7 separate regions of the Homo sapiens genome follow, and regions 2, 3, 4, 5, 6 and 7 are each linked to region 1. Evidence: promoter capture Hi-C in 16 types of primary human blood cells and fetal thymus (Javierre and others, 2016). All regions are on one chromosome and are shown on one strand. The core of a region is centred on a gene start or on the middle of the fragment in contact, and the rest is flanking DNA. Distances in the headings are between cores, read along the strand shown.

The links. Contacts are between HindIII fragments. The CHiCAGO score rates a contact against its expected background, and 5 or more counts as called.
Region 2: a contact is called between the fragment with the promoter of IGLON5 here and the fragment with the promoter of FPR3 in region 1, in 4 of 17 cell types (neutrophils, activated CD4 T cells, erythroblasts and 1 more). The highest score is 11.2, in neutrophils.
Region 3: a fragment that was not itself captured here is called in contact with the fragment with the promoter of FPR3 in region 1 in 1 of 17 cell types (neutrophils); the score reaches 6.1 in neutrophils.
Region 4: a contact is called between a fragment that was not itself captured here and the fragment with the promoter of FPR3 in region 1, in 4 of 17 cell types (monocytes, M2 macrophages, M0 macrophages and 1 more). The highest score is 13.3, in monocytes.
Region 5: a contact is called between the fragment with the promoter of ZNF836 here and the fragment with the promoter of FPR3 in region 1, in 2 of 17 cell types (erythroblasts and fetal thymus). The highest score is 5.2, in erythroblasts.
Region 6: the fragment with the promoter of SIGLEC12 here is called in contact with the fragment with the promoter of FPR3 in region 1 in 2 of 17 cell types (neutrophils and monocytes); the score reaches 9.2 in neutrophils.
Region 7: a contact is called between a fragment that was not itself captured here and the fragment with the promoter of FPR3 in region 1, in 1 of 17 cell types (monocytes). The highest score is 5.2, in monocytes.

Annotation. Positions count from the first base shown.
Region 1 is chr19:51,792,792-51,796,966 of GRCh38, forward strand. It overlaps FPR3 (formyl peptide receptor 3), which reads left to right and starts at 2,366. Exons shown (of 2, transcript NM_002030.5): 1 at 2,366-2,540. The HindIII fragment of the contact is 12,110 bases long and covers 1-4,175 here.
Region 2 is chr19:51,309,140-51,313,314 of GRCh38, forward strand. It overlaps IGLON5 (IgLON family member 5), which reads left to right and starts at 2,505. Exons shown (of 8, transcript NM_001101372.3): 1 at 2,505-2,787. The coding sequence starts at 2,709. The HindIII fragment of the contact is 5,776 bases long and covers 1-4,175 here.
Region 3 is chr19:51,350,086-51,354,260 of GRCh38, forward strand. ETFB (electron transfer flavoprotein subunit beta) reads right to left here. Exons shown (of 6, transcript NM_001985.3): 2 at 4,065-4,175; 3 at 3,047-3,205; 4 at 244-306. Among named protein-coding and RNA genes, the nearest start is that of VSIG10L, 10 kb to the left of the region's middle. The HindIII fragment of the contact is 4,167 bases long and covers 843-4,175 here.
Region 4 is chr19:51,404,921-51,409,095 of GRCh38, forward strand. No RefSeq gene overlaps it. Among named protein-coding and RNA genes, the nearest start is that of SIGLEC10-AS1, 8.7 kb to the right of the region's middle. RefSeq lists enhancers at 2,963-3,012, 4,030-4,175. The HindIII fragment of the contact is 1,983 bases long and covers 856-2,838 here.
Region 5 is chr19:52,169,739-52,173,913 of GRCh38, forward strand. ZNF836 (zinc finger protein 836) reads right to left here and starts at 1,883. Exons shown (of 5, transcript NM_001102657.3): 1 at 1,598-1,883; 2 at 1-43. RefSeq lists an enhancer at 1,282-1,421 and a silencer at 2,002-2,051. The HindIII fragment of the contact is 2,622 bases long and covers 1-2,133 here.
Region 6 is chr19:51,499,671-51,503,845 of GRCh38, forward strand. It overlaps SIGLEC12 (sialic acid binding Ig like lectin 12), which reads right to left and starts at 2,130. Exons shown (of 8, transcript NM_053003.4): 1 at 1,637-2,130; 2 at 250-630; 3 at 1-46. The coding sequence starts at 2,063. RefSeq lists an enhancer at 1-392. The HindIII fragment of the contact is 28,149 bases long and covers 1-4,175 here.
Region 7 is chr19:51,518,991-51,523,165 of GRCh38, forward strand. SIGLEC6 (sialic acid binding Ig like lectin 6) reads right to left here. Exons shown (of 8, transcript NM_001245.7): 8 at 1-1,265. The coding sequence ends at 1,092. Among named protein-coding and RNA genes, the nearest start is that of SIGLEC6, 11 kb to the right of the region's middle. The HindIII fragment of the contact is 2,995 bases long and covers 239-3,233 here.

The DNA of each region.
Region 1 (4,175 bases), core at 1,116-3,615:
GTCCACACCACCACACCCAGCTAATATTTTTTTGGTTTTAGAGATGGGGTCTCACTATGTTGCCCAGGCTGGTCTTGAACTCCTGAGCTCAAGCAATCTTCCTGTCTTGGCCTCCCCAAATTCTGGCATTACAGGCGTGAGCCACTGTCCCTGACCTTTATTTTTATGTATCGGTATTTTTGTTATTTCTTGGCCATTGATTGGTCTAGAGATGGCATGCTCTGGCAATGAAAGACAAGGAGAGGTCCTGAAGAGACTCTGGACAAGGTTTCCCTCTGTAATAAAATGGAAGAGGCATGTGAATGAGTCACATTTTCTGCCTGTCTCATGATTCTGGCTCGGGAGGGCCTGTTGATGCAATGTCCAGAACAGTGGCAGCCATTCTGTGGTCACTTTCAAGAAAGCCCTAGAAGAAAACCAATATGATGATGGAGTGGAAGGGTGACATTAAACTCAATTTTTGTTCAAACTCCAGATCTATCCCCTTCCAAAACTTTTTTTAATAATAAATTTCTCCATGGCTTATGTGCTTCATTGGTTTACTCTACCTTATCACTGAAAACATCCAGTGAATCAGAGAGAAAATAGAAAATAGTTGACTCTTGTTTTGTGGCTCTCCACTGTTTTTCATGGTTCTATTCCTTGGGCTTGAGAACAACATTCTGATGGTGTTTAAAAACTCAGAAAGAGCCCATCTCCTTAGATCAGTAGTCCATAGAGCATCTCCCTAGGGGCAGAAGGTTAGGGGGTTAATCTCGGCAATGGTGTGGAGTGTACAGTGTCTCTCATTTACCTTCCTTACCTCTCTACATGCTCCTAGTTACTGCTTCTCTTTGTAACTCTGAGGTATGAAATACCTCAAAGCATATTTGATTTTGTCACAGATTTCTGGCACAGGGCTCTTAAAACCCTTGGAATTCCCTGAGTGATAGGAGTATTATTTGTTATTCATAAACAGCCCCTTTTGATCATAGCTGAGTTTATGCTAAGGAGATCATGGCCTTAGGATGGGACTGGTCACCAGAAAGACCAAGGGATTAGAGGGTTGGAGCTGTCAGCCCCACCTACTGATCTCCAGGAAGGGGAGGCAGGGACTGGAGATTGAGTTCCATAAAAACTCTTGAACAATGAGATTTGATGAGCTTCCACATTGGTGAACACTCAGGAGTGCTGGGAGAGTGGCTGCCTGAAGAGAGCATGGAAGCTCCATGCACCACCCAACCCCTTCCCTGCCATATACCTGCCATATGCCTCTTTCCAATGGACTATTCCTGAGGTATATTCCTTATATAAAGCAACAGATGCAAACAAAGTGCTTTCCTGAGTTCTGTGTGCCATTCTAGCAATTTATTGGTGTCATTGGAACACCCAATTTATAGCCTGTCAGTCAGAAGTACAAGTAGCCACCTGGGACTTGCAACAGATGTCTGATCTGATCTGAGAACAGTTTGTGGGAGTGAGCCCTTTAGCTTTTCGGATCTGAGCTGAATCCAGGTAGACAGCATCATAACCGAATTTTTAATTGCAGGTGGCCCAGGTGGTGTCCCCAGAGAATTGGAGAATTTCTTGGTGTAGAGAAAAAGTATATTTGGTCAGAAGGATTGTGAAAGTAGAGAATCGAGTTTTTGTTTCACCGTGCATCTTTGTTTTTTTATTGTTTTTCCTCTCATTCTTCTCACCTTGGTAATTGTTTCTTTCATTTTCCTGAATCTCTGAAAAGAAAGGGCCTGGACTCTCAGATTTCTTGGCCTTTGATATTTGGAAGGATGAACTCCAGTCTCCCACAGAAGGCTAGAGGTGAAGGAACATTCAGACACATAAGTTTCCAAGATAAATCGTCTGAGAACATCTCCAAGGTGTCTTCTGGGAATGGTAAGAAACCCTGAGTTTGTGTCACTGGATTGATTCCAGCTCCATTGTCCCCGTGTCCTTCAACTAAGTCTCTGCTGAAGCCTGTTCTATAAAAACAGCAAGTAAGTGGTTTGGACTGACCTATTGTACTAGGTTCGACAAAGCAAACCAAATGGAGTCAGTCATACTAAAACTCCACATCACCAAACCAAAACTAATGTATCTGAACTTTTGAGAAATCAGGAGAGAGAGAAAATGGACAAATTCCTAAAACAGGCCAGTTTCAGTGGGCATGAACATGAAGTTCTGTCTGCTTTCATCTTTACAAAAAAAAAAAAAAAGCAATCTGTGGTAACTTGACTTCAATCAATCAGTTGTTCCTTATTGCTGTCTCTCTATTCCTGCTGCACAAAAAAAATGCAACATCCAGATGACCAATCAGGTTTTTGTTCTCTGTTTCTGCTTTCTTTAGCCCTCCTATCCCTGTAAAACCAACTTCCTTGGCTCTAACTATCAAAACACTCATTTTGTTTTATAGCATGACAGGCTGTCTGATTCCATCTTTATAACCAAAGCCAATTAAGATCTTAAAACCAAACATATAACTTCATCTTTTTACAAGTACTTAGAGCCTGAGTTGCTCCACAGGAATCCAGGAACTGGGCACAGGAAAAGGATCTAAGCTGGTGGTAAGTTGGGGTCTGAAAATTTTAAAGTTATTGTTGAAATGCCTGCTATATGACAGAGCCCTTCTAACTCTGGAGTAGCGTAGTCCAGTGAAGAATCCACTTCGTTAGTATGAAAACAATGTTAACTATTTCATTAACAGTGTTTAATTTGGTTACATGTTCCAGTAACATTCTTTTTTTTTTTTTTTTTTTTTTTTTTTTTGATGGAGTCTTGCGCTGTCACCCAGGCTGGAGTGCAGTGGCACAATCTCAGCCCACTGCAACCTCTGCCTCCCAGGTTCAAGCGATTCTCCTGCCTCAGCCTCCTGAGTAGCTGGGATTACAGGCACCTGCCACCACGCCTGGCTAATTTTTTGTATTTTTAGTAGAGACGGGGTTTCAATATGTTGGCCAGGCTGGTCTTCAACTCCTGACCTCGTGATCTGCCCACCTCGGCCTCCCAAAGTGCTGGGATTACAGGCGTGAGCCAATGTGACTGGCCAATTCTTTATCATATATGTAATTAAATAAAATTTATTACTAAAATAATTTCCCCAAAGGTGTTTTACTTTTTTAAAAACAGTGGCTACAAAAAAATTTTGAGTCCCATATGTAGCTAAAGTTAACACATTATATTTCTACTGGACATGTAGCATTGTAGAGATGTAGCATTGAAGGATCTTGATAGTCCTGTGGAGCTTACGTACTAGTGTGGAGGGTATTTAAGAGAGAAGATAAATGAACAAACAAATAAAGGAGAAAAGTATCTGGTGAGATAGGCTGTACCTGAGCATTCTGCTTTGCAGAGTGGGTGAGGTGGGATCTCTCTGAAATAATATTTGACCTGAAATATGAATATTCAGGATGAGCCAGGTGCAGGAAGCTCAAGACGAAGAGCACGGTAGGCAGAAGGAATAGAGAAAGCAGAAGCCCTGAGATGACAAAGAGCTGCAAGTTCAAGGAATTAGAGCCCAGTGGGTGGAGCCCAGTGTGTCTGATGAGAGTGCAGAGATGAGGTCTGAGGGATGCACAGGGCACATGTGGCAGTGGATAAGGGAACCTAGGATAAGGGAACCTAAGATAAGGGTAACTTAGAAGTCTGGAAGCCATCGGAAGGTATTGCGAATAACATCACCATCTTATTGGACCTTTTTAAAGCTCATTTGGTTTCTGTCTGGAGAATGGATCTTAGGGGAGGGGGCAGCAGGACCAGGAAAAAGCTATTTGCAAGGCTTGTGCAAATATCCAAGCCTGACAGGGCCATGGACACCGGTCGTGGAGATGGCAATGGCTCTGGCTGTGCATTCAGCATGTTCTGTAGATAGAATGAGTAAGACGTGGATGGCGTTGGGTGGTGAGGAAAAGAGAAATGAAAGGTGAGTTCTAGATCTGGAGCTTTAACAACTGAATATTTAATCTCCAAATAGATACAGAATATTGGAAGAGTGGCAGGTCTGGGAGGCAGAGAACATCAACAGTTTGGTAAAACCATGTGAGGTTTGGAGTCTATGGGACTCCCACGGGGAGAGGTTTTATCAGACTTGAGTGCCAGGGAGAGGCCACGGCTGATAATTTAGATGAAAAGACAGCATAATGGTTTAATCCCAGAGACTGGATGATATCATTTATAGAATGTGAGATACCCCAACATTTAGA
Region 2 (4,175 bases), core at 1,255-3,754, 480 kb before region 1:
AGCCGACTGTGATGGTGCATGCCTGTGATCCCAGCTGCTCAGGAGGCTGAGGCAGGAGAATCACTTGAACCCAGGAGTTAGAGGTTGTGGTGAGCCAAGATCATACCATTGCACTCTAGCCTGGGCAAGAAGAGCAAAACTCTGTCAAAAAAAAAAGAAAGAAAGAAAGAAAGAAAGAAAAGAAAAGGAAAAGGCAAAAGAACATTGTTAGTGCTATGAAGAGGTATGACGTAGAGTTATTGTGCTGGGAGTAGCAGCTACTTTGGAAACTATGATCAATGAAGGCTTCTTAAAGGGGAGAAGATGAGCCTTAAATAAGAAAGAGTCATCTGCCAGTGTGGTAGGAAGAGCATTCCAGCGAAAGAACGGCAAGTACAAAGACCCTGGGGCTGGAATTGTTCGGTTTGTTTAAGGAATGGAAAGAAGGTCACAGCGAGCTGAGTGATTGAGGCAGGGAGTGGCCCTAGCTGGTCCAGGTGTTTAGTGGTGGTTGTTCTGAAGGTGGAGGCAAAGGTAGAGGCCAAGAGAGTAGAGCATAGGCTGCTACAGCCAGAGTCCTACAGGGAGAGGTGGTGAAAGCTCAGACCAGGATGGGAGAGTAAGAAAAGGACAAAGCAGAGATTTGTTTTGGAGACAGAGCCAGCGGTTCTTGCAGACAAATTGGATGTGAGTGGAGGGGGAAGGAATTGAGGATGGATATGTTTCTGAGGCAGAACAGCCCCTACTGGGTAACTTCAAAAGCTCCTGCCTTGAACTGCTACAGAAATAACGTAGACTCAGAGATTATTTTGCTCCTGCGTATGCCAAGGGGACGGGAACAGGAGGGTGGAATACACCTAGTAAACAGATGCAAAGTGGAAAGGGGAGGGAGAAACTCACTACAGGTTTTTGAGGTGCTGGCTGGAGCCAGGAGCTGCTCCAAGATCTCTCATTCTTCTCAATAACCTTGGGCAATAGGGAATTTTCCACCTTGCAGGGGAAGACGCTGAGGTTCTGGGAAGAGAAATGGCTTGTCCAAGGTCACACAGCCAAGTCAGTGAAAGAACAGGGAGCCAGGATGTTTTGCACCTAAACCCTGGATTATGGTTTCCTCCCCACCTGCTCCCCCAAGATAAGTCCCCCAATCCCTTCCCATTGCCTTATTATACTGGGGATGAGGGTTGGGGTGGAGGAAAAAAGCAAATTTCACTCCAAAAGTCAGTGTTTTCGTTATCCATGAAAATAGATGGAAAAGCTGAACTGTGGCCCACAGGAAGAGGGGCCTGGGGGCCTGGCCTCCTGGGTCTGAGGGAGGAGGGGGCTGGGGGCCTGGACTCCTGGGTCTGAGGGAGGAGGGGCTGGGGGCCTGGACTCCTGGGTCTGAGGGAGGAGGGGCTGGGGGCCTGGACTCCAGGGTCTGAGGGAGGAGGGGCTGGGGGCCTGGACTCCAGGGTCTGAGGGAGGAGGGACTGGGGACCTGGACTCCTGGGTCTGAGGGAGGAGGGGCTGGGGGCCTGGACTCCTAGGTCTGAGGGAGGAGGAACTGGGGACCTGGACTCCTGGGCCTGAGGGAGGAGGGGCTGGGGACCTGGACTCCTGGCTCTGAGGGAGGAGGGGCTGGGGGCCTGGACTCCAGGGTCTGAGGGAGGAGGAGCTGGGGGCCTGGACTCCTGGGTCTGAGGGAGGAGGGGCTGGGGGCCTGGACTCCTGGGTCTGAGGGACGAGGGGCTGGGGGCCTGGGCTCCAGGGTCTGAGGGAGGAGGGGCTGGGGGCCTGGACTCCTGGGTCTGAGGGAGGAGGGGCTGGGGGCCTGGACTCCTGGGTCTGAGGGAGGAGGGGCTGGGGGCCTGGGCTCCAGGGTCTGAGGGAGGAGGGGCTGGGGGCCTGGACTCCTGGGTCTGAGGGAGGAGGGGCTGGGGGCCTGGACTCCTGGGTCTGAGGGAGGAGGGGCTGGGGGCCTGGGCTCCAGGGTCTGAGGGAGGAGGGGCTGGGGGCCTGGACTCCTGGGTCTGAGGGAGGAGGGGCTGGGGGCCTGGGCTCCAGGGTCTGAGAGAGGAGGGGCTGGGCCTGGACTCCTGGGTCTGAGGGAGGAGGGGCTGGGGGCCTGGACTCCTGGGCTGAGGGAGGAGGGGCTGGGGGCCTGGACTCCTGGGTCTGAGGGAGGAGGGGCTGGGGGCCTGGACTCCTGGGTCTGAGGGAGGAGGGGCTGGGGGCCTGGACTCCAGGGTCTGAGGGAGGAGGGGCTGGGGACCTGGGCTCCTGGGTCTGAGAGAGGAGGGACTGGGGCTAGTCTCCTAGGTCCATGGGAGGATGAGATTGGGACTTGAAGGAGGAGGGAGCTGGGTTTTAGGAAGTATCCCAGACTCCGTGTTCTGCGGATGTGGTGGAAAGACGTGGGGACGCCTGGGGCGGGAGGGGTAGGGGCCGGGCCGCAGTAACAAAGGCCTCTCCCTCCAACAAGCAACCCCCCCTTGACCCCGCCTCCCCGGCCCCCCACCTCTCCTGATTGGCCGGTCTCCCTGCCCGTCAGCGCCGCCCCCCTCCCCGGGTCTGCAGCAGCTCCAGCCGCCTCGTCGCGCCCCCCCAGCCCCCTCCCCCCGCCCCCGCCGCCCCCCGGGCCGGTGCAGCGCAGGCGGGGTCCCCCTCCCCCTCCCCCCTCTCCCCCCAGGCCTCGCGCGCCCCGGACCGGCCCCCCCTTTCCCCTCCCCCTCCGCGCCGCCTCTGCCGCGATGCCCCCCCCTGCGCCCGGGGCCCGGCTCCGGCTTCTCGCCGCCGCCGCCCTGGCCGGCTTGGCCGTCATCAGCCGAGGTACCGCAGCGCCGGGGGCGGGGGGCTCGGCCGGGACGCCAGGGTCTTGGGTGGGTAATCGGGGGATCAGGGGTGGGGGTCGAGGGCTGCATCCCTGGGCCGGCGCGGGGAGGCCCCGGGACGCCGGGGTCTGGGCCCGGGGGTGGGGTCTGCATTCCCTGGCTGGGCAGGGGGACCTCGGACGTGGGGGTCCGCGCCCCGGGGCAGGGGTCGGCGTCCTCGGGCCGGAGCCGGGTCTAGGGGCGGAGGTCTGCTTCCCCGAGCAGGCAAGAGGGTCGCAGACACCTAGCCCTGCCTGGGGGCAGGAGTCTGCGGCTCCTGTTGAGGAGGGGGCAGACACTGGACTCGGGGTCCCCGGGTCGGATCTCCGAACTGAGTTGGGGTGGGGGGCAGGGGATAATGCCCTGTTAGGGGTCTTCATCTGTACGTGGAGAGGGTCCCTGAAGAGGTCCTTGCCGGGGGCTGGGGTAGTCATCTCGGGACAGAGGTCAGGGGATGGATGCCTTCCCAGGGTCAGTAAGAGGAGGGGACAAGGGTGTCCACAGACCTAGTCCCAGGGTCAGGAAAAGAGGGGAAGGGTCTGAAATCCCCCAGCAGGGTCATCTAGGTTGAGAGAAAGTGTTGGTACTTGGGGAGGTTGCAGTTATGTGGGGGAGAAGGGAGCTGGAGATACAGGAAGTTGGGGTGCTGGGCTGGGGTCTTGGATTCCCAAGCTCTGATTGAATGTCTAGGTTCGTGGGGCTGGACAGTGGAAGAGCGATGGGCATGGGAGGATGAAGGAAAGACGGAAGGGAAGGGTTAAAGCAGGTTGAAGGGTTAACCCCGGCCCGGCCCGGCCCTCCCAGTTGGGGAGAGGGCCAGGGGCAGGTTTCTGCACTGAGGTTAGATAGCTGGACCTTGAGTCTCCCCAGTAGGGCCTGGCAGGCAGGGGGTGGTCAAGGAGATTCCTAGATTTCCCCCTAAGAAAAGGGAGGAGAGTGCAAGGAGGCAGGAGGCTGGAGGGTGGGCGCTCAGGAGGGCAGGGAGCTGGGTTAATTCAGACTTTCTGGAGGATTCCCCCAGGCCCTCCCCTGAACAAAGAGTTCCAGGGACAACCAAGAACCCCGACAGAGTCCCCAAGAGTCTCAGAGAGGCCGCCCGCATAGACCAAGTCTGGCACAGAAACCCCGTCACAGCGTCCCACCCGAAGCAGCACCTGCAGACACCAGTCACACAAACACAGCCCCATCCACGCAGGACGCAGGGACCTGGTGGGCCACAGCCTCAGTCCCTTGCTAGTCCTCCCCCGTCTCCCACCTGACCAGTCTGAATCGCCCTCTGACTTTCTGACCACCTGTCTCTGTCTCTGTCATGCATCTCTTTAGGTCTTTGTGTCCCTGCCATTTCTG
Region 3 (4,175 bases), core at 1,676-4,175, 440 kb before region 1:
ACTGGGGAACCTAGAGTTGAGCGGGTGGGCATGAGTATTTCACGTAGGATGGCAAGGAAGGCCCCTTTGAAGAGGTGATACCTCAGCAGAGACCTCAAGGAGGGGAACAAGAAAGCCATGAGGCAATCCGAGGGAACAGTGTTCCAGGAGGAGAGAACAGCAAATGCAAAGGCCTTGAGGCAGAAATGAAGTTTGAGGGATGAGGGCCTGGCCCTCAGCAGGTGCTCCCCACTCCAGTCTCACCTGTGGCCAGTCAAGAAATCCAGCTGTCATCTGCCCTGTCTGGTTACAGTCATCATCGATGGCCTGAATGGGGAGAGACAGAAGACTGTATGACAATCAGTGGAGCTCATGGACCATTCAGGCCTCTGTCTAGAACAGGGGTTGGCAAACTTTTTCTTTCTTTTTTTTCTTTTTGAGACGGAGTCTTGCTCTGTCACCCAGGCTGGAGTGCAATGGTACAATCTTGGCTCACTGCAACCTCCGCCTCTTGGGTTCAAGCAATTCTCCTGCCTCAGCCTCCTGAGTAGCTGGGATTACAGGCACCCAACACCACGCCCAGCTAATTTTTGTATTTTCAGTAGAGACAGGGTTTCAACATGTTGGCCAGGCTGGTCTTGAACTGCTGACCTCAGATGATCCCCCAAAGCTCTGGGATTACAGGCATGAGTCACCGCAGCCAGTCGGGTTGGCAAACCTTTTCTATGGTGGAACAGATGTAGTAAATATCTCAGGCTCTGCAGGTCATACGGTCTCTGTCACGGTGACTCAGCGCTGCTGTTGTAGCACACAGGCAGCCATAAATAATATGTAAATGAATGTATGTGGTGATGTTCCAATAAAGCTTTATTTACAAATCAGAGGTCGCTCTGGGCCATAGTTCACTGACTTTTGGTCTAGAACGATCCCCTCACTTGGGCCCAGAGATAAGCAGCCACTTGTCCAGGGACATGTGGGGCCACCTGGCATCCCTGTCGTCAAGTCTCTGCCCTCTGTATAAAGCCTCTCAGGAGTCCCACCCTATGTGGCCCCTGGGCAGCTGCATGAACAGGGTCTGGGCCAGCAAGGACATTCTAGCCCCAGCCCAGTGATTGGTTCAGGGAGGGGCACATGACTCAAGCTGCACCAAAGAAGAGTCAGCCCTGGGAGTTTGCTGGGGCCCTTGGGAAAGATGCTCCTTTCTTTCTGCTGGGGTCACTGGGCTGGTGGGATCTGAGCCTGGAGATGCAGACAGTGAAGACAAGGTAGAGGGGAGCCTACAGCTCATATGTGACCCTGGATCAAGCTGTGCCTGAAGCCCCTGATTTACGTGAGATAATAAATTCGCTTTCTGGCTTAAGCCAGTTTGAGTTGTGAATCTGCTTCCTAGAACAAACAGCATCCTGACCAGTTCATCCGGCATTTCCCCAGCTGGAGGCCCTGGCCCCAGGAACTGTCCCTGGCCCAGGACAGGTAGGACATCGGAGTCTGAGAACGACCAGCAAATGCAGGGGGCTGCAAAGGCCATGCTTCCAGCACCTCGGCCTCTGCAGCCCCACCCAGGCCCTGCCTTTTTGGCCTGTTCTCCGGGTAGGCCCTTCGGCCACAGTTGACTGATCTGTACTCTGATGCCCCTGCTGTTGATAATCTCTCTCTGTTTTCTTCTGACTTTCTCAGGGCTGGGCAGGACACCCAGTGACCTACCTGGACCCATCAGCCTCCTCTTTGTCCCAGAACTGACCTGGCCCTGGGATCCCCATCTCTCTCCGGGGGCCCCAGCTCTACCTGAGCCTGCTGTGCTCTGCTGTCTCCGTGCTCTGCTTGACATACCTTGCAGTCTTTGGCCTTCCTTCTCAGCCTCATCCCTAATTCCCTGCCTCTTCTCACTCCCATCTGCCTGTGGCTCTTCTGACGTCCCTCTTCTGCCCCTTCCCTGGTTGAGGCCATGAGGTTTGCCCTCAAATGAGATGAGCTACCCCTGAGCAGAGGTGGTGCCCGAGGGTCTCCTGGGGGAACAGATGAGCTCCATGTACCCCTATCTCAGTGGGGAGCACCAGTGTGGCAGGGAAGGTTCTGGTCGGGTCCTCACCCAGCCCTAACCTCCTTCCCTAACTCCTGGCCTCCAATTTCCCATTCCAGTCCATTCTCAAAGCCCAGGGGGGCTCTTTCTGCACCTAGTGCTGATCCCACCCCTCTTCTGCTCATAGAACTCCCATAGCTCCCCAGTGCCCTCCAAAATTCTCAAGTCTTTGTTTCAAGCCCAGGCCTGTCTCCTGAACCTGCATCGATGTCTCCTGGGCTCTTCACACTCCCCTTGTAGGATCCTCCTCTAACCTCCTGTTCTTCCTGGGTTTCCTACCTGTGTTACCAAGGCAGACCCAGGCACTGTCCTTGCCTCCTCCCTGCCCTCCCTCCCCATGCTAAGCCCAGTCTCTCCTGCCACATCATGTCTCTGCTCTGTCCTGTCACCTTTGGCTGAGGCCTCATTCTCCCCCATGTGACCATCACCTCGGCCTCCCAGCCTCTAAACTCACCCAAAAGGATCTTTCTTCTTTTTTTCTTTTTGAGACAGAGTCTCGCTCTGCTCCCAGGCAGGAGTGCAGTGGTGCCTGGAGTGCAGTGGTGCGATCTTGTATCACTGCAACCTCCGCCTCCCAGGTTCCAGTGATTCTCATGCCTCAGCCTCCCAAGTAGCTGGGATTACAGGCAGGTGATACCACACCCGGCTAATTTTTATATTTTTAGAAGAGATGGGGTTTCACCATGTTGGCCACGCTAATCTCAAACTCTCGACCTCAAGTGATCCACTGGCCTCGGCCTCCCAAAGTGCTGAGATTACAGGCGTAAACCACCGTGCCTGGCCCAAGAGGATCTTTCTAACACCCAGAGGGACTCTGTCCTCCCTGCTCAAACTCTCTGTCAGAAGGGTCAGCAAAGTCCCAAGCTGCTCAGCCTGGAGTGGTGAATGCCCTGGGCCTGGCCAGCTGCTGTCTCACCCCGTATCTCCACCACCCTCCTCCCGAGCAGGGATGAGCAAGGGGGCACAGGGAGGGCTGACCACAGCTACCTGTTTGCCCAGCAGCACCAGGTCCACCTTCTCCTTCTCTGCCAGCTTGGCCAGGACCCGAGCCACCTGCAGGGGACCCAAGCGTTCTGCTTCTGCTGGGGGCACCTCCACGTGGATACCTCGGTCTGCACCCATGGCCAGGGCGGTACGAATCGTCTCCTGCCAAGGACAGAGGGGCTTGACTTGGCTGCTATCCTCAGGGGGACCTAGGAGTCTGGCTCGCAGCCCCTCCTTCCTCAGACCCAGGAGTCCAGGGCCCCATCCCCTCCTTCCTCAGACCCAGGAGTCCAGGCCCCCATCCCCTCCTTCCTCAGACCCAGGAGTCCGGGCCCCCATCCCCTCCTTCCTCAGACCCAGGAGTCCGGGCCCCCATCCCCTCCTTCCTCAGACCCAGGAGTCCGGGCCCCCATCCCCTCCTTCCTCAGACCCAGGAGTCCGGGCCCCCATCCCCTCCTTCCTCAGACCCAGGAGTCCGGGCCCCCATCCCCTCCTTCCTCAGACCCAGGAGTCCGGGCCCCCATCCCCTCCTTCTTCAGACCCAGGAGTCCAGGCCCCCATCCCCTCCTTCCTCAGACCCAGGAATCCAGGCTATCAGCCCATCCTCCCTCAGACCCAGGGGTCCAGACTTCCAGCCTCCTCCTCCCTCAGACCCAGGAGTCCAGGTCCCAGCCCCTCCTTCCTCAGACCCAGGAGTCCAGGGCCCCATCCCCTCCTTCCTCAGACCCAGGAATCCAGGCCCCCATCCCCTTCTTCCTCAGACCCAGGAGTCCAGGGCCCCATCCCCTCCTTCCTCAGACCCAAGAGTCCAGGCCCCCAGCCCCTCCTTCCTCAGACCCAGGAGTCCAGGCCCCCATCCCCTTCTTCCTCAGACCCAGGAATCCAGGCTATCAGCCCATCCTCCCTCAGACCCAGGGGTCCAGACTTCCAGCCTCCTCCTCCCTCAGACCCAGGAGTCCAGGTCCCAGCCCCTCCTCCGTCAGACCCAGGAGTCCAGCCCCCTCCCCAAGACCTTCATCACCTGGCACTGTGCAGGCCCACAGCTGACGGCGATGACCTCCTTCACCAGCTTCTTCTCCTTGAGCCGCACAGCCTCCTCCACCGCGATCTCACAGAAGGGGTTCATGGAGTG
Region 4 (4,175 bases), core at 597-3,096, 390 kb before region 1:
CTCTTTGCAGAGCCATTTTGCTGCAAAAACTTGAGGGTGGGGGTATGACTTATTTAATAAAGATGACATTTTCTGTATAAATGATACCTAAGTCCTCCTCATTAGCAAATGTCGAATAGGACATTTTCTTTTTTTATTATTATTATACTTTAAGTTCTAGGGTACATGTGCACAACGTGCAGGTTTGTTACATATGTATACATGTGCCATGTTGGTTTGCTGCATCCATTAACTCATCATTTACGTTAGGTATTTCTCCTAATGCTATCCCTCCCCCATCCCCCAACCCCACCACAGGCCCCGGTGTGTGATGTTCCCCGCCCTGTGTCCAAGTGTTCTCATTGTTCAATTCCCACCTATGAGTGAGAACATGTGGTGTTTGGTTTTCTGTCCTTGCGACAGTTTGCTCAGAATGATGGTTTCCAGGAATAGGACATTTTCTTTCTTTTTCTCTTTCTTTCTTTCTTCTTTTTCTTTTTCTTTTTTTTTTTTTTTTTTTTTTTTTTTGAGATGCAGTCTCACTCTGTTGCCCAGGCTGGAGTGCAGTGGTGCAATCTTGGCTCACTGCAACACCCACCTCCTAGGTTCAAGTGATTCTCCTGCCTCAGCCTCCCAAGTAGCTGGGATTATAGGCACCCGCCACAACATCTGGCTAATTTTTGTATTTTTAGTAGAGACAGGGTTTTGCCATGTTAGCCAGGCTGGTCTCGAACTCCTGACCTCAAGCGATCCACCCGCCTTGGCCTCCCAAAGTCTTGGGATTACAGCCGTGAGCCACTGTGCCCCGCCCCGAATAGGACTTTTTCTGTTGCCTCTTAAATGGTTTAAAGAGGGCAGCCAATAATGGGGTCAGAAAGCTTCTCTCTGCCTAGCTTCCCAAAAAAACAAAGCTGCCAGCTGGCTGTTGGACAGGTGAGAAGTCTTTGGTGAGATGCTTCATCATCCTCTCTTTCCTGAACTCTTCACGTGTACCAGGGCTCTGGATAGGAGGGGGTGCTCCAAGAAAATGTTTAGGAAAGACTAGGGTTTCCTGATAGAATGGGAGGAATCAACACACTATCTCCCCATTGGGTGTCTGTGTGGGCAGCCAACTTCTTGCTGTGCCCTGCATCTCCCTGCGCAGGGGAGAGGAGCATTAGAGAGGAAAAGCTGGGGGCAACGAGGAGCTTGGGGCAGTGTAGCCTGCACTCCACAGTCCAGCATGGTTAGGATGTGTGGGTTTCTGAGTCCTTTCTGGCTACTATAACAACAATACCATAGGCTGGATGGGTTGTAAACAATGAAAATTTATTTCTTATAGTTTTAGAGGCTGGGAAGTCCAAGATCAAGATGTCAGCAGATTCAGTGTCTGATGTGGACTCACTTCCAGGCTTACAGATGGTGCCTTCTGGTTGTGTCCTCACTTGGTAGGAGGGACAGCTCTCTGGGGTCTCTTATTAAGGGCACTAATCCCATTTATGAGGGCACCACCCTCATGACCTAATCACCTTCCAAAGGTCTTGACTTCAAATATCATTACATTGGGGGTTAGGAATTCAACCTAGACTTTGGAAGGACACATACATTTTGTCTATAGCAGGGGGTGGATGGACACGAAGGAGGGTAGCTGGGCTTCTGCAATCTAGGTGATATGTCACCCAAGAAAGCGGTAAGAGGCTGCATGGTGTCTGCCAATGGTGGAATTGGAGAAGGTATGGGAGAAGCAGGGGACACAACTCTCATATCAAGAAACAGAGGAGGCTGGGCACGGTGACTCACATCTGTTATCCCAGCACTTTGGGAGACTGAGGCAAGCAAAGCAGTTGGGGTCAGGAGTTGGAGACCAGCCTGGTGAACATAGCGAAACCCCATCTCTAGTAGTAAAAATACAAAAATTAGCTGGGTGTGGTGGCGCGCACACGTGTAGTCCCAGCTACTCGGAAGGCTGAGGCATAAGAATCGCTTGAACCCGGGAGGCAGAGTTTGCAGGGAGCCAAGATCGCACCATTGCACTCCAGCCTGGGCAGCAGAACAAGACTCTTGTCTCAAAAACGAAAACCAAACAAGCAAACAAACAAAAAAACATGATTGACTCAGTGATCAGAAAACATATAACTATTTTATATTCATACTTCCTGCAGTTAATGTCCCAGTTGACTGGTTAAAAAGAATATTTGGGGGCCAGGCGCAGTGGCTCATGCCTGTAATCCCAGCACTTTGGGAGGCCGAGGCGGGCGGATAACAAGGTCAGGAGATCAAGACCATCCTGGCTAACACAGTGAGACCCCGTCTCTACTAAAAATACAAAAAATTAGCTGGGCGCGGTGGCAGGCACCTGTAATCCCAGCTACTCGGGAGGCTGAGGCAGGAGAATGGCATGAACCCGGGAGGCGGAGCTTGCAGTGAGCCAAGATTGCACCACTGCACTCCAGCCTGGGCGACAGCGAGACTGTCTCAAAAAAAAAAAAAAAAAAAGAAAAAGAATATTTGGCAATACGGAAAGTTCCCCTTGGGTTTTCTGACTCCAAGCCTGGTGTTTTTGTTTGTTTGTTTGTTTGTTTTCATTTGCACAACATTGCCTTTCCCCAAGAGTACTGGATAACAATGCCCTCCCTCCAAGTCCCAAGTCACTATTGCAGAAGTCAGGACCTTAACACACACATTTCAAAGTTACTGACACCTAGTCAAACCTGGTGCCTTAGCAATGCAATCTTGTAATTTCCCAGGTCAAACAGATCTTCAAGGGTTGCTCTCATGGCAGAATTTGGTGGTAGAAGGAAGGAAGCAGAGTCTCAGTCTTTGTGCAGCTTGTAGGGAGTTCCCTTTTTCTCAAGCCCTTGCAGCATCCTTCCCACTCTAAGCTTAAAGGAGACTGTGTAACCAGCAGTGCTCACCCATCCTGGGCCTGAGTTTGAATCCCAGCTCTGGAGTTCAGCTGTGTGACATGCAAGACCTTGTCCCTCTCTGAAGTCCTTCTGTAAAATGAGGTGGCTGCATTGGGTGATCCCATTCCACACCATGAGTCTATAGTCCTATCATCCTGGGTATACCGACGTCTGGTGGCCAACTTTGGTCCTTGCAGCTAATTCAGGTTTTTTCTTTGTTTTTGAGACATAGTCTCGCTGTGTCACCCAGGCTAGAGTGCAGTGACGCGATCTCAGCTCACTGCAGCCTCTGCCTCCCAGGTTCAAGCGATTCTCATGCCTCAGGATCCTGAATAGCTGAGGAATACAGGCACCTGCCACCACACCTGGCTAATTTTTGTATTTTTAGTAGAGACAGGCTCTCGCTCTGTTGCTCAGACTGGTCTCGAACTCCTGAGCTCAAGTGATCCGCCTGCCTCGGCCTCACAAAGTGCTGGATTACAGGCGTGAGCCACCGTGTCCAGCTCAGTTTTTAATTTTTTATTTTTCAGTATCTGGAGTGTTTAGCACAGCCAGGAAACAAAACACACCAGAGAGGGCCACCTTGCCATGTCACCAACGATGCAATAACTACCGAAGAAAGGCCCCTTGGGTGGCTATGGAGGAGCAGAGGTCAGCAGAGGAGATGGCCAGCAAAGTGCTCTCCTTTGCTCTATTTCTTTTCTTTTGAGACGGAGTCCCACTCTATTGCCCAGGCTGGAATGCAGTGGCATGATCTCGGCTTCTGCAACCTCCATCTCCCAGGTTCAAGCAATTCTCCTGCCTCAGCCTCCCGAGGAGCTGGGATTACAGGTGCCCGCCACCACACCTGGCTAATTTTTGTATTTTTTTAGGTGAGACGGGGTTTCACCATGTTGGCCAGGCTGGTCTTGAACTCCTGACATCAGGTGATCCGCCCACCTCAGCCTCCCAAAGTGTTGGGATTACAGGCGTGAGCCACTGTGTGATTCTTAGCATGTTGTAAGTTTGTCATTGTTCCATTTCCAAAGCATTCCAACCTCCATCCCCGCATGCGTTTGCACTTCTTTAGATTTGTGGGTCTGAGAGCGCATTAGCACCCCATCCACATGCAGTCTCCTGCCCTTCCAATCCTCACCCTGAAAACCTTCCTGTAGTCACAGACCTAGTCATTTTTCCCACGGCTACTCTTGAACTCTTTATGGACCTCTGCGCTCGCTTCCTCTTCTGTGAAAACAAATGAGTTTATGTAGATTAAGATCTAGCCAACTTCTGTAAAGGATCAGATGGTAAATATTTTAGGCTTTGCAGGCT
Region 5 (4,175 bases), core at 633-3,132, 380 kb after region 1:
GCGGAGATCATGGCACTGTACTCTAGTCTGACAGAGCAAGACCCTGTCTCAAAAAAGAAAAAAAAAAAAAAAAGACATACCTTGTAGTGACAGTGACAGTCATTTATCGCCCCATTTCTCAGTTACTCTATCCTCTACCCCATCCCAGGGAAGAAAAGAGTTACCACGAATGACTTAATTTAAATGCTCTCTGGCTAAACAGAAATTCCAAATATCTTTTGATACAAATAAATACAAAATGCACAAGCCTTACAGAAAAGAGTGGTAATTTTCATCCTCACGAGTACAATTTAAAGAAATGAATTTTAAATTAGAGTATAAAGTCACAAATTAGAATATTACAACCACCATCCATATCCAATCAACTCATCGCTCATCTGGATGGGGTCCTCTCCCACTTTCTTCACTATTGTGTGTGTCCCTCTCTCATTCTGCACCTTTCCTCCCCTTTTCTGTTTTTCTCCTCTTTATGTCTGTTCTGCCCGATGCTCTGCAACTTACTTCACCTCTCGTAGCTCTTTCTCCCCAATCTTTCTGATTGTCCCCAATCTCCACGTATTTCCGCCTCTTTTTCCCCATCTGAGCTCCCTCTCTGCTCTCCTTGTTAAAATTCCCTCTTACCTGTTACACCTCCTTTGTTCCCACTCTCTAGCACCCCCAACTCCCTAGGCTTCCTCCCTGCTGTGGTTCTCCCTCTACTCTGCTTGTCACCCACTGCCCTCTCTCCCTCTCTTTCAGTCCCAGCACCACGTAGCTCTGTCGGCTGCGGCTCCAACTCTTTCACCTTCTCCCCACTGTCTGTCTGCAGTGCCTCCTCCTTTGCCGCCCCACTCTATTTTGCTGCCTTTCATCTCTCTGAAGGTCCCCCTTTTTTTCTAAATTTCTCTGTGTGCTTTCCTCCCCCTGCTTCTTTCTCCATTCGTTCTCTTTCACTCTTGCTGTCTCTTTGCAAATCCCTAAATTATCATCCATTTTGCCGTGTATTTATGGGTCTCCCTCATTCTCTTCTATTCGGTCTTTCCTTTTGCTCCGTCGCTCCCCTTCTTTTCCTCTCCTGATCCCTCTCACCCACACATTCAGTAAGAAAGGGGAGGAATAGGATGCCCACCTCCCGGAAAAGCATATTTTCCAGTGGAGTAAAATTTGGGAAGGAAGAACACTGGGTGTCACAAGACTCAGGTGACCTCCCCCAAGGGGGGGATCGAGAAAAGCAGTGGCTGTGAAGGGGAAGCCTGGGGAGCGAAAGGACCCGGCGTGAGGAGGACACAAGGTGGCAGGGGGTACGGTGTCTCAGGACAGGGAGGGTCTGCAGAATCCCAGGACCTGGGAGGAGAAGCGACTCCTTCAGGAGCCGGACGGCGGGCGCTCCCCTCCAGGGGCTGACGACGGAGAAGCTCCGGGGTCGCAACGGGCGGGAATCCACCTCCCGAGTGAGGACTCGACTTGGCGCAGGGCCGAAGCAGAGGTCAGTAAGGGTTTTAAGCAGGAACACGACCTGAGTGGGGTTGTCTACATGGTCCTAAGGCAGAAAGGCAGGGAGCAAGGAACAGCCTCAGAGAGATTTTTAAACCGAAAGGGAAGCAATTATCAGACTTACTTGGGGCGAAGGGGCTGTTGCTGGTATTTTAAGGTCCGTAGCGATCCCCAGGAAACGGGTATGGACAAGGGAAGACTGCCAAGTGCACGTTCGATTCAGGCAGACGGGGCGAAGCAAATGTTTAGTCCAGGTAGACGGAAACTGACGCGCAGCGCTGTGATCTTTTCCCCGCGCGATCTGCTTCCGGGTGTGCAGGAAGCTACACGCCCTGAGAAAAAAGACTGAGAGACCTGGGGCGGGAGAGGGGCCTGGGCGGGGTGCGACCCGCAAGGGAAAGGGCAGAAAGACTGGCCAGATTTGGGAACCCTGAAAGGGTGGGGCAAGGCTGATGCGGTAGTGGGCGGGGCCAGGTGGGCTAAGCGGGACGGGCGGTGTGGGCGGGACCTGTTTGGTGGGCGGGGCCTGTTATTCGCTCTGCCTTCCACCCAGCAAGTCTTTGTTCTCCCGATTTAGGAGTATTTGTGACTATTTCTTGTCCTGTGAAGCAGCGTTGCTTCCTGCCTATTTTAAGTTAATGTTTTAGACTTTAAGGTCAAAGCTTAAAGTTGTGGTCCACTTCTGTTGGAAACTAAGATGTTTTCTTCTTGTCAAGTTGAACTGATTTAAGTCAAAATCGATTTTTGCGAGCCTGGTGGACTCCATCGGGTCTTGCCAGTGAGGCTGAAGCCAGTTAAGGCTGAAGTTACTCAGTAGTCAGGGAACTAGGATCTCCGTGAAGATCTGATGTGCAGCCGTGGCTGGATCCAGGAACCCTGAAGACATTATGCTAAGCGAAATGTGCTAGACACAGAAAGACAAATCCTGCATGTGCTTACTTACATGTGCAATCTACAAACATCAAAATTACAGTAACAGAGTAGAAGGGTGGTTTCCAGGGCTGACGGTCTATCCTGTGCCTGTCCCACCATTGTATTTTGGAAGCAAATAGCTTCTTTGGCTTCACAGTTTCACAGCTGGACAGAAATTTTGCCTCAGGATGAACCACACTTTGAGTCTCACCCATATGTGATTCAGATAATATTTGGGTAATATTTGGGCCTTAGAGTTTGATACTGAAATGGATTAAGACTTTTGAAATGGGCCAGGAGCAGTGGCTCTGGCCTGTAATCCCAGCTCTTTGGGAGGCCAAGGTGGAAGGATTGCTTGAGCTCAAGAATTCAAGACCAACCTGGGGCAACATAGTAAGACCCTTGTCTCTACAAAAAATACAAAAATTAGCCAGGCATGGTGGCTCACGCCTATAGTCACAGCTATTTGGGAGGCTGAGGTGGGAGGATCTCTTGAGCCCAGGGGATCAAGGCTGCAATGAGTTGTCTTTGCACCACTGAACTGCTGCCAGGGCAACAGAGTGAGACTCTGTCTCAAAAAATAATAATAATAAGACTTTTGAGATGTTAGGATGGGGGTGAAGGGATCTTGCATGTGAGAAGGACATGAATTTTGGGAGTCCAGAGTACAGAATGTTATGAGCTGAATCACGTCCCTAAAAAATCATTGTTGGCCAAGCGCGGTGGCTCATGCCTATAATCCCAGCACTTTGGGAGGCCGCGGCGGGCGGATCACAAGGTCATGAGATCGAGACCATCCTGGTTAACACGGTGAAACCCTGTCTCTACTAAAAATGCAAAAAATTAGCCGGGCGTGGTGGCGGGTGCGTGTGGTCCCAGCTGCTCCGGAGGCAGAGGCAGGAGAATGGCGTGAACCCAGGAGGCGGAGCTTGCAGTGAGCCGAGATCCAGCCACTGCACTCCAGCCTGGGCGGCAAAGCGAGACTCTGTCTCAAAAAATAAATAAATAAATAAAATAAAATAAATCATTGTCTTTAAGTTCTAACACCCAGTACCTCAGAATATGACTGTATTTTGAAATAGGGCATTTAGAGGCTATTAAGTTAAACTAAGCTTGTTAGAATGGGCTCTGATGCAATCTGACTGATGTTTTGATAAGAGGAAATTTGGCTGGAAGCAGTGCTTCATGCCTGTAATCCCAGCACTTTGGGAGGTCAAGGTGGATGGATCACTTGAGCTCAGAAGTTTGAGACCAGCCTGGCCAACATGGTGAAACCCCATCTCTACTGAAAATACAAAAATTAGCCAGGTGTGGTGGCGCATGCCTTTAGTGCCAGCTACTCGGGAGGCTGAGGCAGGAGAATTGCTTGAATCTGGGAGGCAGAGCTTGCAGTGAGCCGAGATCGCGCCACTGCACTCCAGCCTGGGTGACAGGGTGAGACTCTGTCTCTTAAAAAAAAAAAAAGAAAAATTAGCCGGGTGTGGTGTCACGCACCTGTAATCTCAGCTACTTGGGAGGCTGAGGCAGGAGAATCGCTTGAACCCGGGAGGCGGAGGTTGCAGTGAGCCAAGATCGTGCCACTGCCCTCCAACCTAGGCTCAAAAAAAACAGTGTGTGGCACCTCCCCATTCTCTGTCTTCCTCCTGTCTGGGCATGTGAAGTACTTGCCTCCCCTTCACCTTCTGCCATAATTGTAAGTTTTCTGAGGCCTCTCCAGAAGCCAAGCAGATGCCAGCATCATGCTTCCTGTACAGCCTGCAGAGCCATGAGCCAATTAAACCTCTTTTCTT
Region 6 (4,175 bases), core at 880-3,379, 290 kb before region 1:
GACTCCAGGGTCCCCGGGATGGAGAAGGTGGGCATGTGAGTCAGGGCTGGTGATGAAAGGGAGACAGGCAAAATGAGGGTGTTGGGGTCTGAAGTGTGGTGCTGAGGAGGCTCAGGCTCTGGTCTTACTCCTCCCCTGAGCCAGATATGCTTCACCTCCAACTCCCTCCCAGGATGGGGGTCCCACCTCAGCCCTACCCTGCGGCCCTCGGGCCTTCCCCTCTGGCTGGTCCTAGAGCCAGAGATTTACCTGTCACATGCACAGAGAGCTTGTCATATATGTAGTTCCATTTCCTGCTTCCTCTCTCCACCTGGAAGTAGTACTTCCCTGAATCCCCCTTCCTGGCATCTCTGATGCTCAGGGAGCAGTTGTTGGTCTGTGGGTCCCCAAGGAGGAGGAATCGACCGTGGGTATCCTCTTGCACTTTTCCACTTGGGGTGTTTGTGGCCACTGGAATATCCCATGGTATATCGGCCCCTTCCTTGAACCAGGATCCATAAACAGGGCTAGAGGCAGTCCAGTTGTAATGGGGGTAAAGGACACTGCAGGGCACAGAGACACACAGACCCTCCTGCACAGTCACCGACTCTGGCACCTCCAGCCTGTATCTTGACAGTAGGTCCTGGGACGCTGTGGAGAAACGAGGGTCAGCCCAGCCCCCACTGTCCCTCTCTTCATTTGCCCATAGCAGGGGCAGCAGCATCTCTGAGGCAGAGGCTTCCTGGGCTCCCTGTGTGAGCAGAGAAGGGGGAGGGAGAGGAGGGGCAGGGCTGTGGGACCCACAGGGGGCTGGAGAGGAGCTGGAGACCTCAGCCCTGCATGGAAGAGAAACTGCAAACCCACATGCTATAGGAACTCATTCCCTCTGCACAGAGTGAAGGAAACCCTAAAGCTCAGAGACCCTAGAGACCCACCCAGGGAGGAGAAGAGACCGTGTCCCGCCTCCTACCTCCGGGCTTCCCTGAAGCACCAGGGCCTGCACCAGACACGTAGGTCCTGCCCTCCCGGCCTCTGGACCATCGTGGAGGTCCCTCCTGTCTTTTGAGCATCTAAATGTGGATCTCCGAGGACCTCGGGGCATGAGAGATGGAGGGGCCGTGTGCTGAGTCTCCCTGTCCAGGCTCAGGTGCCTCTGCTGCCCTTGGTTTGCGCCAGGAAGTGCTTCCTCCCTGGCCTGGCCTGAGAGAGTCACGGGGTTGTGTAGACCTAAGGCTCTCAACTGGGGAGGACTTAACCCCCCAGGACGTTTGACAATGTGTGGAGATAATTGTCTCGCTGCATGGGTGGGGTGGGTGCTTCTGGCATCTGGTGGGGAGAGGCCTGGGATGGTGCTAAACCCCGGCCATGCCTAGGACAGGCCCCAAAACAAGGAGTCATAAGGCCCCACATGCCACAGTGCCAGCGTCAGAGGCAGGATGAGGATGTCAGGCCTGTGGGTCAGGGCTGGTGAGGGGAGGGGCTTGCAGGATCAGGAGGGGCATCCAAGGTGCGGTCCTGGGGAAGCTCAGGCTCTGGTCCAGCTCCTCCCCTGAGTCCATCACCCCCGGCCCCCTCCCAGGACATGTGTCCCGTCTCAGCCGTGCCCTAAAGCCCTCATCACATTTGCCTTTGGCCTCTCTTGGAGCCCGTGCCTTACCTGTCACATTCACAGAGAGCTGGTCATATTTATAATTCCATTTCATATTTCCTCTCTCTACACAAAAGACGTATGTCCCTGCATCACTCTCTCTGGTGTCTCTGATGCTCAGGGTACAATCCTTGTTCTGTGGGTCCCCAAGGAGGTGGAATCGGTCCCGAGTCTCCTCCTGCACTGCTCGAGCTGGGTTGTTTGTGGCCACTGGAATGTTCCGGCTTACATGGTCCCCTGCCCGGAACCAGTAGCCATGAACTGGATCGGAGGCAGTCCAGCCATTTTGGGGGTAGGAGAAGGAGCAAAGCACAGAGACACACAGGCCCTCCTGCACCGTCACGGACTTCTGCATTGTCAGCAGGTAATCCTTCTGTTCCTTAGCCCCCACTCTCCCACAGAGCAGGGGTGGCAGCAGTAGCAGCAGCAGTAGCATGTGTCGGGTTGGAGGTGCCAGGGTTGCTGAGGTAAGTCTGTTCCTCAGGGTTCTTCTCTCAGGAACTGAGAACTCAAGATTTCGAGGAAGCCGCACAGGAAGTTGGGGGTGGGTTCTGAACGGTGACCTCACAGGAGGAACTTCACACACAGACACTGTCAGGGCCGGGTCACCCCTGGAAGATCCACCGTCCACTACCCCGTCCACTCCTGGGGACCCTGAGGCCAGAGAGGATGAAAGACTCACCCAGATTCCAACCCCATGCAGGGCCCACCCCGCCCACTGCCTCCCTCTCAGTGCCCTTCCCCTTGGGTGATATTTTCCATAAGGTGAAAATGAGTCCCATGTGGCCAGACCTATGAAGTACAGGCTGTGGATGTCTCTCTGTAGGTCAGAGGTGACACTAGGATATAAGAGATGGGGGTGCAGGTGGGATGAGCAGGCAACCTCTCCTTCCTCCCTCAGCGGCCGTGAGGTGGAGTTCAACACAGCAGAGCTAGACACTGTCCCCAAAGAGTCACTGTGTAGTGGGGAGACACTGAGGCTCCTGATATCTGAGCTCTCCATGGCAGGAGCTTCAGTGGGGGTACCAGGCAGGGTGTGGTCGCTCTCTCCTATGTTGGGGAATCAGTCTCGGGAGGACTGAGCAGAGAGACACGGGGTCGTGGAGGTGAGGATTCCGTGTGTTGATACACACCAAAGACACAGAGAAGAGCCCAGTTCACAGGAGGCCTGAGAAGCTAAGGCTGTGACTGTTGTACAGTGAGGTCTGGAAGGGAGGAATGTTGGATGGGAAGGGACAGATTTCTAAAGGGGCAGGCGTTTCTCTCTCGGCCATGGCTCTCTGGGTTCAGGATGGGATCCTTCACCACTGCTCTCTCACAAGTCCTCCTTACTCCAGAGCATGAGGGGTCTGCTGGCCCTTTGTTCCTGCAGGCTCTGCTCCCAGGGTTTCAGGTGAACAGGAGACGTGGAGCGAGGACACCAGCCCTGGCGTGTCCACGCTCAATGATGGACAGGATTTCATGGGAGAAGAAATGCACCTGAATTCAGCAGAAGAGTTTTTGAAACTGTATGCTATGTACTGGGAGGAAGGTGGGGAAAATCCTGCAAGATTCGCCCTCCTTAGACCCATGTCAGCTTTTCTTGAAACAATGATTTTTGGGGAAATGTAATACAAGTAAATAAAAGTGCCACCTAAAAAAATGACTCAGTGATTTTCACCAAATTATCACTGTTCAAGAAATAGAACATCACAAGATAATTGCCAAATTTCTCCCATGAGATGAAGAAAGAAATTGCATTCATTTATTCAGCCCTGTGTTTCCCCTTCCTATAGGCCACATGCAGTTCCTCCTGAAGATGCCCCAGCCTCACTTTAATGATAATGGTCTCCTTGCTTTTCTATGTAGTTTTATCATCTGAGTGCACTGCCTTCAATACTATGGCTTTGCATAGGTTTTTCTAAAGACTATTTTTACATAAAAACCACAATCTGTTTTATTTTACTCAGCTCCATGGATCTTCCCATCCCCATGTTGTCCCCAATTGCCCATAACCTGGAGTAGAGTCAGTTGGCTGTGATAATTGAAAAGGAAATGTGCAGGATTGGGGCATGCATAGCTGCTCCTCTCCCTGACACCACTAATTCCTGCATTTGCAGCTTGTATCTCATCCTGCAGACCAATCTGCTCCTGGGCCCCCATCCTTGCCGTGTCACTTTCTTCCCGTAAGGACAGTTGCAGCATCTCAATGGGAAGAAGGGCTCGACCACGGCCCATCTCTTTCCCACAGTCCCCAGTTGGCAAAGAAAAGCAGAAAAATGGGAAGGAGAGACATGAGGAAGCCACAGAGAATCTGCAAAGGAAGAACGTTTGAACCACATATGACTCAGAGGAGCTGATGGGCCCTCTAGACCCACTTCCATAATTTGGAGAGGAAGATATTAAGGACCAGAGTGACAAGTGCTACAGCTACATGTCTCTCCTCAAAATTCATTTGTTGACCTTTGAACCCCCATGTGATAGTATTAGAAGGCATGGTGTTTAGATAGGTGGTTTGGATTAGCCTAATAGGATTAGAGCCTGATATGGTTTGGATCTGTGTCCCCAC
Region 7 (4,175 bases), core at 486-2,985, 270 kb before region 1:
CGTCTGTTAAAACAGCTAATCAAAGCCGGGTGCGGTGGCTCATGCCTGTAATCTCAGCACTTTGGGAGGCCGAGGAGGGCAGATCACGAGGTCAGGAGATCAAGACCATCCTGGCTAACACGGTGAAACCCCGTCTCTACTAAAAATACAAAAAATTAGCCGGGTGTGGTGGTGGGTGCCTGTAGTCCCAGCTACTTGGGAGGCTGAGGCAGGAGAATGGTGTGAACCCAGGGGGCGAAGCTTGCACTGAGCCAAGATCGCACCACTGCACTCCAGCCTGGGAGATACAGCAAGACTCCATCTCAGAAAAAAAAAAAAAAAAAAAAAGCTAGCCAAAGCCAGATACAAGGCATTCATTTACAAAAATATACAGACTTTATGAAAACCTTTGTGTCAGGGCCTTTGTTAGCTGTTTTACAGCTAACAAAGCTGTATGTTAGCTGTATGCTTTCTTTGACCTTTCACAATAATCTGGTTAGATGGAAATTATTTCCCTGCCTTACAGAGCAGGGACATAAAGCGACTTGCTCAATAGCTGGCATAGATGGAGTTGAACTCAGTTCTCTTGGACAGAAGTCCTGTGGTCTGCCATATATACGAAGGTATTTATATAGTCCATTTACAACAAAAACATTAATTTTAAAAGAATTGGACACAGTGTTATGGGCTAAATTGTTCCCTTCTAAAATTCATATGTTGGAAGTCCTAAATCTCAATATCTCAGAAGGTTACTGTATTTGGAGGGTCTTTAAATAGTTAATTTATTTAAATTAGGTCATGGGGAGGCCCTAATCCAATATGACTAGTGTCTTTATAAGAAGAGAAGATTAGGACACAAACACACTCAGAGGAAAGACCATGTGAAGACACAAGGAGGAGACAGCCATCTACAAGCCAACAAGAGAGGCCTTAGAAGGGACCAACCCTGATAACACCTTGTTCTCAGACCTCTAACATCTGAAACTATACGAAAATAAAGTTCTGTGTTTATGTCACTCGGTTTGTGGTACATTGCTGTGGCAGCCCTAGTAACCAATACACTGAGAGGTACCATGTTCTCTCCAATCAAGGTTATGGCTTTGGACAATTCCTCACTTGTGTATCTTGATTTCTGAGTACTCAGTGTCGGTGACCTTTGGTTCCTGAGGTTGCACCTTGTGGAAGTGTAGGACAGCGTAGTGGAGCTCCTGCTCATCTTCTGAGATGGGGCCAGCCTCAGCAGGGTGGTCTGAAACTATGCCTGTCTGGAACTGGTGCTGATGACCCTTAATGGAAGAAAAGAAAAGATTCAGGGCTGGACAATAGGTTCTCAAAGAAAGCAGCCAAGGATCAGAAAGGGAGTAGAACTGATGGAACTTTATTATTTATCCATTCATTTATTATTTTATTTTATTTCATTTTATTTTATTTTATTTTTGAGATGGGGTCTCGCTCTGTTGTCCAGGCTGGAGTGCAGCGGCATGATCACGGCTCAGGCAGCCTTGAACACCTGGGTTCGAATGAACCTTCTGCTTCAGCCTCCTGTGTAGCTGGGACTACAGGCATGCACCCCACCTGGCTAATTTTTGTAGAGATGGAGTTCTACTATGTTGCCCAGGCTGGTCTTGAACCCTGGGCTCAAGGAATCCACCCACCTTGGCTTCCTAAAGTGCTGGGATTACAAGCATGAGCCACCACATCCACCGCATTCATTTATTTTAAAATATTTAATAATTAAGATTGGCAAGCCCTTAGTGAGTGTTTACATTAATCAGTCATATTCTATTCTCAAAAAATGCTTTGCAGTGGATTCCATGATTACATTCATCTTACAAACGGGAACACTAAGGCTAAGAGAGGCTCCACATGTTGCCTATAGACACACATCTATATAAATGCACCACTGAGAAGGACTCAGAACCAGCTTATTGTTGTGTAGGTCATGTGACATGTGCTAGATGTTAAGCCATGAAGAAAGCAGACACAGTCCCAGATAGTAGGCAGTGTGGTTTTCTATGAGATGCAGTTAGTTAAAAACAGGAAACAAAATCACTTTTTTAATTCATGATAGCAGATATTTTGAAATATAAAGCAGGGGCAGGAGTGGCATATCTGATTCCTAGACAGGTACTGGAGGACAGAACAGAGACCGGGTCCTGCAGTACAGGCCACCGGACGCCCTCTCCTGTACCTTCTCTTTCTAATGCCCCTGAAAACTTGAAAGTAAAGCATGGTAAAGAAATTATGTAATGATTCCCAACAAAGTGGGGATTTAACACACACTAAGTGTGTTATATCTCCAAATAAACCAAGAGGCAATACAAGAAATTATGGAATGAGCAAATAAGAAAAAGTGGGAAATCTCTGGGGAAACAAAATATTTTATACTGGAGTGTGTGTGTGTGTATATGTGTGTGTGTGTGTTCAGGGAGGCATTGGTGACAGTGCGTGAATGGCTACAGAAATGAGATTTATGTTCCACTCATGTCTTTCCTCCATCATTGGGATAATATATTCCTGCCTGCATTCTTGCTACACAAATCAGTGGCAAAGTCCGAGACTAAAGGTGTGAATTTCTGCAGGAGAAATGACAGATCAGCACAAAAGCCCTACTGAATGAAGAAAATAACAGGTGGAAATTGCCTCTCCCTGGGCTTCCCCTGGCCACCTTCCCCCATCCACACATCCCAGACTTTTGGAAGACAGTCTAGGTATTACCTCCCCCAGCACCAATTTTTCCTGAGGGTCTGAACAACAGGAATCATGACTTGAATTATTCTTGGTCAGTTCTCACTCAGGCTATGGTAGAGTAACTGGCACCCTCCCAGCATAATTAGAAAACTATACATAGTATGTAAAATATGTGTTTCACAAGGAAAACAGGCAGACAGGACTGTGACATCTGAAAGAAAGGAAACCAATGAGGTGAGTCTCATGATCAAATGACAATTTCCAAACTGCAGTACGTGGAGGATAAATTCAAGCAGAACACAAGAGTCTTATGAAACTGTGGAGGCAGCAACTGCAGTTCAAGTGGGAATGATGTGGGTGGAATTTGTAGAGCAGAGTACAGAGAGAAAAAACTACACAGAGAAAGAACTCCAAAAAATATGCATAGAGGTCCCCTTGAATCTTTGGCTGAATACTAAGCTGTATGCACAGAGTGAAAGGCTGAAAGCCTGGGTACGTGCTGCTGGAGAAGGAACAGCTATGAGAAAGCTGGAATGAAGGCAAATATAAACTCACCCTGCCAAAGCTTTTGTAAAAATCTTTGAATGGTCAAGACAATCCACTAATAAATTAACTGCATTCGAGAACAAAGCTCAACAATTTTTAAAGGAAGATTAAAATATCCGGATAATCAACAATGTAACACGATGTCCAGTATGCCACCAAAATCACTACCTATGCGAAGAAGCTGTGGAATGTAAGCAATGAAAAGTATATCAGTAAATAGAAACATATCACCAAATGATGGAATTAGCAGAAAAGAAGATTAAAAACGGCTATAAATACACATATTCAAAGACTTAGGCCAGGTATGGTTGTTCATGCCTGTAATCCCAGAACTTTGGGAGGCTGAGGTGGGCAGATTGATTTGAGCTCAGGAGTTCGAGACCAGCCTGGGCAACATGGTGAAATCCCATCTCTAATCCCTAACCCACAAAAAAATTAGCCAGATATGGTGGCTCACGCCTGTAGTCCCGACTACTCGGGAGTCTGAGGCTGGAGAATTGCTTGAGCCCAGGAAGTGGAGGTTGCAGTGAACTGAGAACATGCCATTGCACTCCACCCTGGGCAAAAGAGTGAAACCCTCTCTCAACAATAACAAAAACTTAAAGGAAAACAGAACATAATAAGGAAATGAAAACTATAAAGAACTGGGCTGGGTGTGGTGGCTCACACCTGTAAGTCCAGCAATTTGGGAAGCCGAGGCAGGAGTACTGCTTGAGCCCATGAGTTTGAGACCAGCCTGGGCAACATGGTGAGACCCTGTCTTTACAAAAATTTGTTTAAAAAATTAGCCAGGCGCAGTGGTGCATGCCTGTAGTCATAGCTATTTGAAAGGCTGAGGCAGGAGGATCACTTGAGCCTAGGAGGTCGAAACTGCAGTGAGCCATGTTCATGCCACTGCACTCCAGCCTGGGCGACAGAGTGAGATCCTGTCTCAGGAAAAAAAAAATAAACTGAATTGA